Regions from separate parts of the Homo sapiens genome. Here region 1 is linked to region 2. The links are contacts of gene promoters, found by promoter capture Hi-C in blood cells and fetal thymus (Javierre and others, 2016). All regions are on one chromosome and are shown on one strand. Each heading gives the region's core, a stretch centred on a gene start or on the middle of the fragment in contact. The rest is flanking DNA. Distances are from core to core; before and after follow the strand shown.

The links. Contacts are between HindIII fragments. The CHiCAGO score rates a contact against its expected background, and 5 or more counts as called.
Region 1: a fragment that was not itself captured here is called in contact with the fragment with the promoter of FRGCA in region 2 in 6 of 17 cell types (naive B cells, total CD4 T cells, total CD8 T cells and 3 more); the score reaches 6.8 in naive B cells.

What each region holds. Positions count from the first base shown.
Region 1 is chr21:43,515,116-43,518,859 of GRCh38, forward strand. It overlaps a transcript of HSF2BP not described here. Among named protein-coding and RNA genes, the nearest start is that of LINC00313, 39 kb to the left of the region's middle. The HindIII fragment of the contact is 638 bases long and covers 2,163-2,800 here.
Region 2 is chr21:43,139,231-43,143,151 of GRCh38, forward strand. FRGCA (FOXM1-regulated, gastric cancer associated) reads right to left here and starts at 1,862. Exons shown (of 2, transcript NR_133677.1): 1 at 1,732-1,862; 2 at 1,293-1,583. The region is part of intron 4 of LOC101928369 (a long non-coding RNA gene); the gene reads left to right. RefSeq lists enhancers at 2,255-2,792, 2,793-3,328. The HindIII fragment of the contact is 22,159 bases long and covers 1-3,921 here.

The sequences.
Region 1 (3,744 bases), core at 1,232-3,731, 380 kb after region 2:
AAGCTCTGTTGTGGTTTTTAGAAACCACCCCCAGGAAGAGGAATGGCCAAGGGAGCAGAAAGGAGGAAATGTCAGCCCCAAAGTTGCATCTTGAGTTGGTCTCCTCCATGGACAACTGAGGCTCTGTCCTTCAGTGACCCTCTGAGGAGCTGGGGAGAATGGAGCTTGTCTGCACATGCCTTGCTTATAGGAGTGCTGGCCTGGTATGGTCCTGGTATCTCACCCTGCCCAATCTGAAAAGCCCAGGAGAGGGCAAAAGGGGCTGTTGGTCACACCTGCATACAACAGTGGCTGGCGCAAAGATAAGTGTGGAAGCTGTGAGGAGGCATAAGAAGTGTCCGGCGCCCAGACCCATCACTCCGCAAGAGACAGGCCTGTTGGTGTCATATGGAGAAAGACCCTAGAGCTCCAAGCTCTCAGGGTGCCAGACCAAAGATTCTGCAAGACCCTTGTCGGCCTGTCACCCAATGGGTGCTCTCTAGAGGACAGAGGGGTAAATGGCAGAGACACCTGAGGAACAGGCTTTCATGACGCCACGGAGCACCAGGTAAACCTCAGACAAGTCCACACTGTGAGGCCCAGGCCCAAGGGGCAGGGGACAGGAGGAGCCCCATGCCCTGTTGCAGGGAAAATCTGCTGCCCTGGCCCAGCCTCTTTGGGGATGCTGCATCAGGACAGCCTCACCCTGGTGGCGTCGCTTGCCTCCAGTGTGCAATGTCTGCAGGAACATCTGGGTCCCTGGCTAGAACCCCTTGTCCTGCCTCTTGAGTGCTCAGGGTATGCTATGGAAATGCAGACGAATTTTAACAAGATCCCAAGCTAAATGCAATCAGGGAGAAATGAAAACTTGGGCAAAACACATCACATGTTCCAAGGTCAAAGGTGAAAGCTGTTTGTGACTGTTGCACACCACTTCAGCTCTCTGTCACAGCCCTGCCTCTCCCCAGTATACCACTCTGATAGTTGAGTGATGTTTTAAGTATGAAAAACTGTCACACCTGGAAGGTGGGGGGGCCCTGGAAACCTGAGCTGCTGGGAAAACGTGCTCCCCTCCTCCATGAGGAGGACACAAGCCCACACCCCTAAGCCACTGTATGGGGCTGCTCTGATGGGGCTTCAGGATGTGCCCCAGCCTGGAAGGAGCTTGCTGATTCTTGCCTCTGAATGGCCATGTCCTGAGCTGGAGCACCTGAAGACAGCTATGGTGCCCAGAGGCCTGGGAGCTGTCGGGTAGCCTGGCCCCACTGCAGGTGGCAGATCTGGGAGCCACAAGAAATGCTCTGCTATTTCATACTATGCATTCTTCAGAGGCTGGTGCAATAGAGTTTAATCAACTTCCTCTGGAAGAGACTATATTCATGCAGACTTGTAAGAAAGAGAAATAACTTGAACTTTGGTTTGTTTGCTGTTCTTGGTGTGCACATTCATAAATCCCTAAAAACCCCGAAGCACAAGCACTGCCCCTGCCGTTCCTGCTCTCTGCTTGGTGGTCAGGCCACTCCATGCAGCAGACCAGCTCAGGCCTATGTGGCCTGGAACCATCTCTTCTACATGAGACAAGGCCGGGACCTCTGCCCCCACCCACAAGCACATGGAGAGGGAGAGGGAGCCCCCTGCCTGAGCAGCAGAGACCCCAGGAAGGAGGCCAAGCCCTCCTCACACAGGAGGTCTCCAGCTGCCCTCTGAGGTGAGGGGTGCCTCTCCCAAACAGCACAAAGTACAGCCCAGACCAGAATGTTTTGGAAGGACTCAGAAACAAGAAAGTGTGTGCTGAGTAAGGGCCGGGGCTGCAAAATACAGGGAAGAGAAGCCACCTTGCAGCCTGGACTGCGGGTTGTGCAAGCCCTGCCGGCTGCAGCCTGCCCTCCCAGGCTGGGGATTAACATGGGAGCAGACGGCTTGGCTCAGAACCAAGTGTGACTAATTGAGAGGACAAACAGGAAGGCTTTTCACCTGCCCAGACCTCATTCAGGGTTTCCTACGAGACGATAGCATCAGGAGCCCTGGCGAGTACAGGCAGTTTTGTTCCTTGCTCTGAGTCTCTTGTGCTGATGACGTCAAAGGGGCCTAAGACAGTGCCCCCAAACCTGGACAGAGTGTGGAGGAGAAAGAAAGCTGGTGAGCAAGCATTTTGGCCTTGAAGACCAGATCGCTCATCCCAAAGCTTGGGTCCCTGGCCTGGGAACTGGGTTTACTGATTCCCCTTGTGATTCTAGCTCCTTTAACCTTAAGACGGAGCCTTTCTTCTGGCAATTACCCAGGAATGGGACTTTCTTCCAGCACAGCAGAGAAAACAGGATTAAGCAAGGGGCTCTGGATCCTAAGACAGCCTCTGGAGCTGGCAGGAGAGTCTGGTGGCTTCTGCACTGGGCCAGACTTCCACCCAGGTTTCCAGTGACAAGGTTTTAAGGGAGAAATGCAAATCTGATGAACATTTAACTCCATGAAGCAGATAGCTTCAGGTTTGTCCTGCAGGATTCAGAGGTCTATGACCCCTGACACATCTACACTTGACCTGTAGCCAAAAATAGTTAAAAAGATTATAGAGCCCTAGAAACCTGGCCCTGTCTTCAGTGCCCACAGGGTAAAACGTATCTTCTGGGCTCATGGGAGAGGTGCAGTCACAGTGCCCTCCTGCCCCCTCATACACGGGGGTGCAGAGCCAGAAGCAAATGGGAGACAAACATTCCCCTAAACCCTAGTTCCAGCCCACACAGCCAAAAGCCAACTCCCCCTTAGAAAACCTTAGTATGCGTGTCAGCCAAATTCCTTAGGGTTGAGGCAGAGGTGTAGCGAGGGAAGCTTGCCGGACTAGAGTCAAGACACAGGTATGTTTAGCATGGGAAGGAAGGTATGACAGTCCCCACACACAGAGACGCAGACAGAGAGAGAGATGCACACAGAGACACACAAAAACATACAGACAAGATACAGAAACAACACTCACAGGCACAGTCACACAGACATACATGCACACATACATGCAGACTCATACAGATAGGCACACACAGAGGCACAGTCACACACAAAGACACACACACACACACACACACACACACACACACACACAGAGACAGACACAGATCTGTGGTCATCTCCACTGAATTGCCAGGGACATCACTGAAACAACTTGAACTCTGTCCACACCTGATTCAGGCAATAAGTGTCTGTGGGTCAGGGCAGGGGTTATGGGTGGATCCCACCGTGGTGTGACTGTGGGGAGAGTCCAGGGCAGCTCAGCAGCCTCCAGGGAAGGACACAGCCCAGGAGAAGTGCTAGGGGAGTCTGGGGCCCTGGTGGGTGGCTTGGACAGGTAGTGGGAGCAGCACCCAAGGAATACGGAGGCCCAACCAGTTGAGTGGCAGAGGCTCTAGCCAGCCTGGGCATGGGTGCCTTTTCCACCCAGGGTAAACTGCAGCCACAGGGGCAGGGGTCCCCGAGGAGAAGGCGGCACAAGGAAGGGCTCTCAAGGCACCTTCTTGAAGACCAGGAAGACTTTGTGAAAGGAAAATAAATCTCGGGACCCCAAAATCACTAAGCCAAAGGGCAAAGTCAAGCTGGTGTAAACCAAAAATAAAATTCTAAGTCCCCCGACAAGAACGGACCCTTCCTCTCAGCAAGGGCATTCCAAAGCTAACCTGAAAAACAAGTTCAGGCCATGATGGGAAGGGAAGTCAGGCATGACTCATTATACCCTCTTCCCTTTTGGAATTACTGATAGAATAGGGTCTTTAAGTCTGATAA
Region 2 (3,921 bases), core at 612-3,111:
CAGAGGTGATTATTTGGGACCACTGGATTGGGGGGAGAAAGTCAGTGTCTCCCAAGGGGTACGGCACAGGACAGAGAACCAGTATTGGAGCTCAGACAGGCTCGGGGGACTGGGAGATGGAAGCCATCGCCTTTACCTTGGGCATTTCATCTTAGGTCCCATGGAAACAGGGGCCATGGGTTGGTACTTATCATTTCTTTTAAACAGATAATGGCATACAGTAAGTCCTCAATTTCATCACAGCTTCCTGGAAACTGTGACTTTAAGCAAGACAACATATAATGAAACCAATTTTACCATAGGCTAGTTGATATAAACAAGAGTTAAATTCCTATGTCATAGGCTGGGTGCGGTGGCTCACACCAGTAATCCCAGCACTTTGGAAGGCCAAAGCGGGCAGATCACCTGAGGTTGGGAGTTCAAGACCAGCCTGACCAACATGGAGAAATACTAAAAATACAAAAGTAGCTGGGTGTGGTGGTGCATGCCTGTAATCCCAGCTACTCGGGAGGCTGAGGCAGGAGAATCGCTTGAACCTGGGAGGTGGAGGTTGCAGTGAGCCGAGATCACGCCACCGCACTCCAGCCTGGGCAATAAGTGTGAAACTCTGTCTCAAAAAAAAAAAAGAGGCATATTTCTGCTCTCAAAACATCACCAGAACAGGTGTGGTGGCTCACACCTGTAATCCCAGCACTTCGGGAGGCTGAGGTGGCAGATCTCTTGAGGCAAGGAGTTCAAAACCAGCCTGGGCGACATGATGAAACCCCATCTCTACAAAAAATGCCCCCCAAATTAGCCAGGAAAGGTGGTGTGTGCCTGTGGTCCCAGCTACTTAGGAGGCTGAGGTGGGAGGATTGCTTGAGCCTCAGAGGCTAAGGTTGCGGTGAGCTGTGATCACACCACCACACTCCAGCCTGGGCGACGGAACAAAACCCTATTTCCAAAAAAACCCCACAAAAAAACAAAAAACACCACCAAATTTCTAAAGACCCAAACACTTCTAATATTAAACATTGAAATAAATGTAAACTATCCCTACATGTAGAGGTAGCTACACCTACATAAGGAAGATTAATACAAACAAGTGAGATCATGATCTACCCAATATTTGGGATGTCTGTGAGTGACGGCGGTGGTAGTGGTGGTGGTGAAATCACGGAATCAATGTCTGCAAAGCACACGCTCTTGGGAGCACCTCCTCCCACCGCACAGCTGAAAGACAAGCGACCGTGAGTATGGCGGCTCCTTGAGCACCCTCACACGCGGCGTTTGTTGTCATGCGTTTGTGTGATTACCGTAGGCTTTATAATTTTTATTTGATAATTTATATTCATGTATTCATTCATTTTCCAACTTGCTTTCTCCAGTTCAGAGTGGCAGGTGACCAGGGCCCATCCTGGAGGCTCAGTGCCAAGGTGGGCACCCGCCCTGGATAGGACAGGCCTCCATGGGACACCCACACTCACTCGGACTAGGCCCATGTAGACATGCCGTGAGGCTGAGGTGTATACTTGGGATGTGGGAGGAAACTGGAGGACCTGGAGAAAACCCGCGCGGACCTGGGGAGACCTCCTCAATGCTCCCTAGAATGAAACGATGGGATTTGAGGACCTGCTGTATTTATTTGTCCCAATCCAGCGGCCCTGGCCTTCAGTGCACAGTAGTCCCTGCTGCTGGGCACACATCCCCTCATGCTCAGTCCATTGACCAGGACTGGGCACATGGCCTCACCTAGCTGCGGGCAGTGGCTTCTGCCCTGGGGCAGGCAGCTGCTCCAGGTCTGGAGATGAGCCCCACCTCCAGGTGCAGCTGCTCCAGGTGTGGAAACGGGGCTCTACCTCGTGGGGAGCGTCCGCTGCGGGCCACAACCTTGCTGGGAGGCTGCGGGAGATGGGGGGTAAGAGGGGTGATGTTGAGGCTTTCCCTCCTCGGCAGTGACCGGCGCAGCCCTCCCCAGTGTAGCTCCCCCCTCCCCACCCCTCCCTCCATCTGGAACACAGCACGGGGGCTGCCCTCCAGCCCTCAGTGTGCAGGGCTTGCACACCTTGGCTTGCAGGGCATTTGGGGGATCCCAGTGGGGCAACTGCCAGCTGGAGAGATGCTGGTGCCCAGCCGTGCTGCTCCTGGGGGCAGGCTGGGTAGGGGCTGAGGGGCCGGAGTGAGCGGTCCACAGTCATCCAGGAACAACAGGGCTCTCACCTGGCAGGGCTCCCAGGCACGTTGATGGAGGGAGGGTTTCCTCAGTCCTCTCCCCCAGCCCTTACTGGGCAGTACCCCCACCCACCATACTGTCTCTTGCCTGGGTCTCAGGTGGTTGGCGCTGTCTGGCCCCTGCCTCTCCCTCTGTCCCTTCAGCTGAAGCGGGCTCCACGCCATCCCAGGACTTCCCGCGCGGTCTGAAGCACAGCCACATCCGGTCTGACCGTCCCTCACCCCTCCCTCACCCCTCCCTCGCCCCCCCTCGCCCCTCCCTCGCCCCTCCCTCGCCCCCCCTCGCCACCCCAGGAGGAAATAGAGGCTGAGTGTCCGTGCCCTGCAGCCGAGCAGCCACCCTTGCCTTTGGCCCCACCTTCGCCTGCCTGGCGGCCGTCCTGTCACCTGTCATTCAGCCCTTGCTGTCTGCTGGGCACGTGCCCTGCAGGTGGGGTGCACGGCAGGCCCATGAGTGCCCACCATGCCTCGCCATTCAGGAAGCCACCCAGGTGCTCCGGGCGGTGTCAGGGCAGGGTGCGTCTGTGCGGCGTTTGCATGTGTCCACCGTCCTGACCGGGGGCAGGGCCACGTCCCACACATCTTTCTGCCTAACTTATGATGTGGCAAAGACACATCCCGATACCTCTCCCGGGTGGGCCTGTGAGCTGGGCTCTGTGACGCCAAGGCCCAGGACCTGCTCAGCCCTGGGAAGATGGAACTGGAGGGGACCTTGAGATGGCTGGCCCAGCCCCTTGTCTTATAGACAGGGAGACAGCAGAAAGGGAGATGGAGTCACCGGCCAGGACCCCAGCTATGAGTGGGAGCTGGACCAGGAGTTGAGTGTCCTGAGCCACCTCCTCCCTGTGCTGGGTCCACTCTCAGAAACACTCCAGGTCTGGAGGCAGACCTGGAGGCAGGGCAGGGCAGGGCAGGGAGGGCAGAATGGCTATGATGTGGTGAGGCTGTGTCCCCACCCAAATCTCACCTCGAATTGTAATCCCCAGGTGTTGAAGGAGGGAGGCGATTGGATCATGAGGCGGTTTCCTCCATGCTGTTCTCATGATAGCTAGTGAGTTCTCATGGGATCTGATGGTTTTATAAGGGGCTCTTCCCCCTTCGCTTGCTCTTGCTCTCTCTCTCCTGCCACCATGTGAAGAAGGTGCCTGCTTCCCCTTCAGCCATGACTGTAAGTTTCCTGAGGCCTCCCCAGCCATGCAGAACTCTGAGTCAATGAAAACTCTTTCCTTTAGAAATCACCCAGTCTCAAGTAAGTTTTTTTTTTTTTTTTTCAGACAGAGTCTTGCTCTGTCACCCAGGCTGGAGTGCAGTGGCACCATCTCGGCTCACTGCAACCTGCGCCTCCTGGGTTCAAGCGATTCTCGTGCCTCAGTCTCCCGAGTAGCTGGGATTACAGGTGCCTGCCACCACTGCCAGCTAATTTTTGTATTTTTGGTAGAGATGGGGTTTCACCATGTTGGCCATGATGGTCTCGAACTCCTGACATCAGGTGATCCACCCACCTCGGCCTCCCAAAGTGCTGGGATTACAGGCGTGAGCCACCGCACCCAGCCAGAAGTTCTTTATAGCAGTGGGAAAATGGACGAATCCAGGCTTGCATCAGTGTTCCGGGGCAGCCCAACAAAGTACCACAAAATGAGGGGCTTAAACCATAGACATGTGCTCTGTCGTGGCTCTGGAGGCCAGAAGTCTGAACTCCAGGTGTGGGTG